Regions from separate parts of the Homo sapiens genome. Here region 1 is linked to region 2. Evidence: promoter capture Hi-C in 16 types of primary human blood cells and fetal thymus (Javierre and others, 2016). All regions are on one chromosome and are shown on one strand. The core of a region is centred on a gene start or on the middle of the fragment in contact, and the rest is flanking DNA. Distances in the headings are between cores, read along the strand shown. Region 1 overlaps AP4E1 (adaptor related protein complex 4 subunit epsilon 1). Region 2 holds the start of GLDN (gliomedin).

Region 1 (4,031 bases), core at 426-2,925, 370 kb after region 2:
CCCCTACTCTTTATTTTGTCTTATAGCCAACCCCATTTCTAAGATATATAATTTTATAATTTATTCCACAAGTATTTATTAAATACTTGCTATATCTTGTCTCATAACCAATTTCCTTTTCTATAACAGTCTCCTGAAATTTCAGTTTTGCTTTAAAGGACTTTTGAAGCACACAGATTTGGGAGGAGAGAGGGAGAATCTAGTTTGAGCGTTTAATCCCATTTATAATGTGGTTCTATGGGAAAAAATGTACTTGGCAAAGGACTGCATAAGCTTGGGGAATTCCAGGGCTCTTGTATTTGTGTCAGCTATTTAGCTTATTTTAAGAAACAAAATAGGCAGTGCCAGGAAATAGTCTCCCTATTATATCTCCCCTTCCCTATCCAACCCTTGACTTCAGTAATGGCAACTGGTGGCCCCCAGATACCTGAAAATAAGGAAGTATGACAACGGAATCATACCTCCCACTGTGGAAACCCAGGAGCTTTTCACTCTAGGCCCTGGATGTCATAAGGCATTTATATGCAGTATAACCACAGGTTAGGCAATTATAATTCAAAAGTTTACTTTTTCCCCCAATATATTCTATTAATATATAAAAAGTTAATGAGAGGAAACTGATTACACTTTGAAAGAGAGTTTAAATTTTATAGTACATTAGTTATCACTGTGCTAAATAACATATAAAAAGCCTTAAAAGAAAGGGATTGCACAGAATACATGTACTTTCCAATCCATGAACACAGGATGTATTTCCATTTATTTGTGCCTTGTTTGATTTCTTTCATTAACGTTCAGTGGTTTTCATTAAACACAACTTTCTCACTTGCTTCAGTTTATTATTAGGTATTTTGTTCCTTTTGGTGCTATCATAAATTGGGCTGTCTTCCTAATAACCTTGTCACATGGTTTGTTGTTAGTGTACAAAAATGCAAATAATTTTTGCATGTTGACTTTGCATCCTACAACTTTCCAGAATTCGCTTATTACTTCTAACGGTTTTTTAATGGAGTCTAATTTAGGGTTTTCTATAAATAAAACCATATTATCTGCAAAGAGGAACAATTTTCCTTTCCAATCTGAATACCTCTCTTCTTTTTCTTAACTGCTCTGGCTAATACTTCCAGTACTGTGTTGACTACAAAAGAGACAAGTGGGCATCCTTGCTTTGCTCCTGATCTCAGAGGAAAAGCTTTTGGTTTTTCATCATACCATGCTATGATGTTAGCTCTGGGTTTATCATATATGGTCTTTATTATATTGAGATATTGCCTTCTATTCTTAGTTTTATTGAGTTTCTTTTTAATCATGAAAGGGTATTCAATTTTGTCAAACACTTTTTCTGCTTTTATTGAGAACTGTGTGGTTTTTATCCTTTATTCTGTTAACATGATATCACATTAATTTATTTTCAGATGTTGAACCATCCTTGGATCCCTAGGATAAATCCCACTTGATCATGGTGTATGATCCTTTTATTGAGTTCAGTTTCCTAGTATTTTGCCTATATTCATCAGGGATATTGGCCTGTAGTTTTCTTTTTTTTGTGGTGGCTCTGTCTGGCTTTGCTATCAGGGTAAGGCTGGTCTCATAAAATAAGTTTAGAAATGTTCTCTCCTCTTTAAATTTTTGGAAGAGGTTGAAAAGAACTCTCTCTCTCTTTCTCTCTCTCTCTCTCTCTCTCTCTGTCCCTTTTGTAGAGATGGGGTCAAGCTATATTGTCTAGGCTGGTATCAAACTCCTGGCTTCAAGTGATCCTCCCACCATGGCCTCCCAAATTGCTAGGACTACAGGCATGAGCCACTGTGCCCAGCCCCAATATTAATTCATTAAGTGTTTGGTAGAATTCACCAATGAAGAACCACAAAAGACCATGAATACCCAAATTAATCTTGAGAAAAAAGAGCAAAGCTGAAGGCATCACACTTACTGATTTCAAAATATATTACAAATCTACAATAATCAAAACAGCATAGTACTGGCATAAAGACAGACATAGAGACAGAACAGAGAGCCCAGAAATAAATCCAAGCATGTATAGTCAACTAATATTGAACAAGGACACCAAGAATACACAACAGAGAAAGGACAGTCTTCTCAACAAACAACATTGGGAAAACCAAATATTCACATGCAAAAGAATAAAATGGAAGCTTTATCTTATACCATACATAAAAATCAACTCAAAATGAACTAAGGACTTAACTGTAAGACCCAAAACTGTAAAACTCATAGAAAGAGATGAAGTTTTGCTCTTGTTGCTCAGGCTGGAGTGCAATGGTACAATCTCAGCTCACTGCAACCTCCACCTCCCGGGTTCAAGTGATTCTCCTGCCTCAGCCTCTCAAGTAGCTGGCATTACAAGCATGCACCACCACGCCTGGCTAATTTTGTATTTTCAGTAGAGATGAGGTATCTCCATGTTGGTCTGGCTGGTCTCGAACTCCCGACCTCAGGTGGTCCACCCACCTCAGCCTCCTAAAGTACTGGGATTACAGGTGTGAGCCACCGCGCCCAGCTGGTAAAAGCTGCTTTATGACATTGGTCTTTACAATAATTTCATGGATATGACACCAAAAATACAGGTAATAATAACAAAAATAAACAAGTGGCAATACATCAAATTAAAAAGCTTCTGCATAGCAAAGAAAACACTCAACAGAGTGAAAAGGCAACCTATGGAATAGGAGAAAATATTTGCAAACCACATTTCTGGTAAGGGTTAACCTCCAAAATATGTTAATCCTATGACTCAATAGTTTTTTTTTTTTAACTAATAACCTGATCACAAATAGGCCAATAACTTAAATAAACATTTCTCTAAAGAAGACATACACATGGCCAACAGGTATATGAAAAAATGCTCAAGGTTACTATTAGCAAGAAAATACAAACTGAAACCATAATAAGGCATCACCTTGTACCAGTCAGGATGGTGATTATCAAAGAAAAGAAAACATAACGTGTCAGGAAGGATGTGAAGAAGTCAGAACCCTTACCCATTGTTGATGGGAATGCAAAATGGTGCAACCACTGTGGAAAGCAGTATGGAGGTTCCTCAAAAAAATAAAAATACAGGCAGTACACAGTGGCTCATGCCTATAATCCCAGTGCTTTGCAACGTCAAGGTAGGAGGATCACTTGAGCTCAAGAGTTTGAGACCAGTCTGGGCAACATTAGGGAGACTCTGTCTCTACAAAAAATTAAAAATGAACCAGGCATGATGGCATGCACCTGGAATCCTAGATACTCAGGAAGCTGAGGCAGTAGGATCACTTGAGCCCAGGAGTTCAAGGCTACAGTGAACTATGATCGTTCTACTGCACTCCAGCCTAGGTGACAGAATGAGACACTGTCTCAAAAAAAAAAAAAAAAAATGGCCGGGCACAGTGGCTCATACCTGTAATCCCAGCACTTTGGGAAGCCAAGACAGGTGGATCACTTGAAGTCAGGAGTTTGAGACCAGCCTGGCCAACATGGCAAAACCCTGTCTCTACTAAAAATACAACAATTAGCCAGGTGTGGTGACTCATGCTTGTAGTCCCAGCTACCCAGGAGGCTGAGGCAGGAGAATCACTTGAACCCAGGAGGCAGAGGTTGCAGTGAGCTGAGATCGTACCACTGCACTCCAGCCTAGGCGACAGAGCAAGATTCTGTCTCTAAATAAATAAAAATACAACTACTATATGCTCCAACAATCTCACTTCCGGGTGGGTATTTATCCCAAATAATTGAAATCAGGATCCAAAAGAGATATTAGCATTCCCATGTTCACTGCAGCACTATTCATAATAACCAAGACGTGAAAACAACTTAAATGTTCATCAGTAGGTGAATGGATAAAGATGATGTCATATACATATACAATGGAATACTATTAAACTTTGAAAACGAAGAAAATTCTGCAATATACGACAACATAGATGAAACTTAAGAATATTATGCTAAGTGAAATAAGTAAGGCACAAAAAAATATTGCATGGGTCCACTTTTATGAGGTACCTAAAAGGTCAAATTCATAGGATTGAGGA
Region 2 (3,672 bases), core at 1,173-3,672:
TCTTAGGCCCCAGCTTAGACCATCTGAATCAGAATCTGCATATTAACAAGATCCCCAAGATATTCCTGTGCACAATAAAGACTCAGTGTTAGAGACTGAGTAGTATTTCTTAAAGTGTGGTGCCTGGACCATCTGCACCGAACTCACCAATGGCATAGGAGGTGGGGGGATGAGGGTCAGAGGACTTCTAATAAAGCAGATTCTGGAGAGGATTCTATAGGTCTGAGGGAGAGGCCCTGGAATCTGCACTGTAATATGCTTCCAGCTGATTCCTAAGCCTACTGTTTGAGAACTGCTCCCAAGAGGAAAGTGAGTAGTAAGATGATTGCCTTCTCCTAGCCTCAGGGACAGGCCCTCATGACTCTAAAAGGTCAAAACATACCCATTGCAGGTGGGGGATGAGTTAGTTGATGATAATCTACTAATAATATCCAGTCTGACACATGTGATAGTTCTGCTCTCTGACCTGTAACAGAGTTAGTGGTAGCACTGCGAGGTCACCTAGAGTTAATTTGACACAGAGATGAGTGTCTCCATTCAATTTGTTAGTGACGGAATAGGTTGCAATTCGGATACGAAAGCTTCTACCTTAAAAGCAGGATTAAAAATGTAAAACAATGATGCTCAGATGTATCCCTTTTTGAGGATTTTTTAAAAGCCTTAAAATGTAGGGTAGAGAGCTGAAAGGGCGAGAATGAATTCCCCTAAGGAGGTTTTTTTCATCTTATAGCAGTCCTTTTTTGAAACTTCTGCTTAGGTCCAGATTTTTAAATGATAACATGAATTTAAAAAACAAATGAAGTGAGGAATGGAAAACTTGATCTCTCTCAAAAGATGTATTTGAAGTATGTAGTACTTTTACGTAGTTTTAAAAGCATTTCAGCTCATGTAAGTTATTTAAAAGCTTCTGTGATAACGGAAGTTTAAGTCAATTTATTTTCAAATACCTAGGATTCTGAAGTATGGCTCACACTTGACTGGAGGTAATAGCCGAAATCTTTCTAATTATAAAGTGAAACAAGACTGTTGCAATTGTAATAAATAATGAAATGGAATGGGGAACTGCAATGTGATCTAATAGTATTTGTTAAATACCTATTGAATTAAAAGCGGCAAAAGCAAAGAAACTTAACACTGGAAAACAAATCTTTGAGGCTTTGAAGACTTTCTTCAGAGCAGTGTTTCTTAAACCTTTTGGGGGAGGCATGCAATGGGGGACCCCTTGAAGATCTAGTGAAAAGCTGCAGACCCTCATCCACATGGGCAGGAGGGCACAGGCACACACACTTGGCAATTTCTGCAGTTCCGTGTACTCCCTGGAGCCCAGTGGGGAGACCAATCCGCAGGTCCCATGTTAAGAACCTCAGCTTTGACACTGCATTTTAAGAAAAAAATTGCACCATATTGACGTCCCTCATTTGGAATTGCTTGAGATCCAGGGGCAACTTTCCCAGCATCTAGGTCCCAGGTGGGCAGTAAAACTAGGGCTGTTTTCACTTAAACGGAAACAATTAGGCCGGCCATCTCGCAGGAATGAGGCGATGCCAGGTGAAAAGCCAGACCACTAGTTGATGCCAGGGAAAGAATCCCTTTATTGAAAAAGCCTACGCTCTTTCAGAAACGCGCCTCCATCCTCTCAGAGGGCCCCACCCACAGGTCAGTGGCACAGGCGGAGCCCCAAGGCTGCTGCGGCTCCATTCACACCAGGAGACGAAAACTTGTCTAAGCTGAGAAGGAAAATAGGCTCTTAGAAACACTGCCTTCGCCCTTCGTTTACATGTGGACTCAAAGAATGTCAGAGGTAGAAGAGACTCCCTCCTTCACCCTGTCCCCAACCTCACAGATGAGAAAACAGACTCCAGTGGGTTGAGGTGCTTGCCAAGGTGACATCCCCAGCTACTCATGCCCACAGCCCTCTCCGCAGCACCTCGCAGCCTGGCCAGGGGAGAAGAGGGCGTCGGCGTCCTCGCCCCACACCCCCAGCCGCCCACCTGGCCGGGGCGCCACGGGGAACAGAGACCCCGCCTACCGGCACCATGGAGTAGGTCATCATCATCAGCATGTCATGGCTCTCGGCGCGGATATGCGGCGCGGGCTCGCCGCTGTGGCTGCGCTTGTTGCGAGCTGAGCTGGCCGGGTCTTGGGGTGGTGCGGACGCCCCGCGCGGCGCGCGGCTCAACTCGGCCAGGAAGGAGCGCAGGGCACTGTCCTCGCGCTGCTCCCGGCCCCGCTGCGCCTCCAAAGCCCGCAGCGCCGAGCTCAGCCCGCGCCACTGGCACAGCGCGAACACCGTGCCCGCAGCGTTGAGCGCCGAGAGCAGCGCCACGGCCGCCAGGGCGCCACGCAGGCCCCAACCCGCGTCCCCACGGCCTCCCTCAGCGCCTCGGGCCATGCTCTATGCGCCTTGGGCAGGGCAGGGCTTGGCAGCCTGCGGCCCTGGCAGCCTTTATACGCCTCGGGCAAGCCGTGGGCTGGTGGCAGCGTCGTGAGTCAAGTCACCCTTTGGCCCAGCTGGCGGGGCGGGATGGGGACAGTAGTGGTGGCGCCCGAGCAGCCCAGAGGGACAGGCGGGCAGAAGCAGGAGAGGAGCCAGTGGAGGCAGCCTGCGGAGGAGGGGCTGGCAGGGCTCGTGCTCCCAGAGTCCCGCCAGCTGAGCAAACCCTCTCCTCCTCTTCCCACTGCTCTGCCTGAGGGCATTGCCGTGGCCCAGACAGGCAAAGCAAGGGTCAGACTGAGGGGGAGAGCAGGAATTCTTATGGAGAGAAGTCTCCGGATTCCACCCCCTTCTACCCCCACACTGCCCTCTTGGAGAAAAAGATCAGCATGCCCAGATGCTAAGGCACGTGCCCACTGTCCATGGGAGGTCTGGTCCTGGCCCGAGCACCAGGCTGCGCATCACTCCCCACCATGGCCATGAGGCTCCACGAGGCCACTGAAGACCCCAGATGATCTTTCCCAGGAAGGGGATGGATAGGGGCAAGGAGACACTTGGCACTGGAAGGCAAAAAAGGCCACCCATCAGAACCAGAAAAGCCCAGGACTGCCTGGCCAACAGGACTCGTCCTTGAAAGGAGAGTTCCAGGATTTGACAAGTCAGGAACTCTCCGATGAGATCCATATCTGGAAAATGGCAGGATGGTGAGGAAAAAAACCCCAGGAATCAGGAGACCTAGTTCTAAAGCCACTCTGTTGCTACTCAGCTGGGAGGCTTTGAGCATGTCCCAAGACCATGAGGAGGTGCTTTCTGGCCTAAGGGTTGGAGAGCTGGGCCATGGTTGGGTTCTTACCTAGCCCTAGGAAAACATGTTTTCCCATGCCTCTCATTTACTCCTCACAACTTTTATGTTGCCCAATACCTGCTCTGCCTCGAGGGTCACTGTCAACCAAATGCAGAGTCACTTTTGAGTCTCCTCAGAGAACCTCTTCACTCAAGATCTTTCTCAGCTTCTCCTAGAATGGCTCTGCTTCCCTGGGGCCCCAGGACCTATGGGAAACTAACGTAGACAGCAATCTTCAAGCCCCATGTTAAGAACCTCGGGTTTGACATTGTTTAAGAAAAAAAAAAAATCACTCTGTTTGGATGTCTCCCATTTGGGAGACCCAACCAGAAGGCAGGATTGCTGTTTCCATAGCCCAATAACTCAAGGAAGAGGTGCCTCCCCGCCAATGAGC

What was found. The method cuts DNA at HindIII sites, captures the fragments that hold promoters and counts their contacts. A CHiCAGO score of 5 or more calls a contact.
Region 1: a contact is called between a fragment that was not itself captured here and the fragment with the promoter of GLDN in region 2, in 1 of 17 cell types (M1 macrophages). The highest score is 6.5, in M1 macrophages.

Annotation. Positions count from the first base shown.
Region 1 is chr15:50,973,613-50,977,643 of GRCh38, reverse strand. The region is part of intron 15 of AP4E1 (adaptor related protein complex 4 subunit epsilon 1); the gene reads right to left. Among named protein-coding and RNA genes, the nearest start is that of MIR4713HG, 62 kb to the left of the region's middle. The HindIII fragment of the contact is 961 bases long and covers 1,195-2,155 here.
Region 2 is chr15:51,340,405-51,344,076 of GRCh38, reverse strand. It overlaps GLDN (gliomedin), which reads right to left and starts at 2,422. Exons shown (of 10, transcript NM_181789.4): 1 at 2,030-2,422. The coding sequence starts at 2,392. RefSeq lists cis regulatory regions at 3,241-3,265, 3,338-3,381 and an enhancer at 3,071-3,434. The HindIII fragment of the contact is 3,655 bases long and covers 907-3,672 here.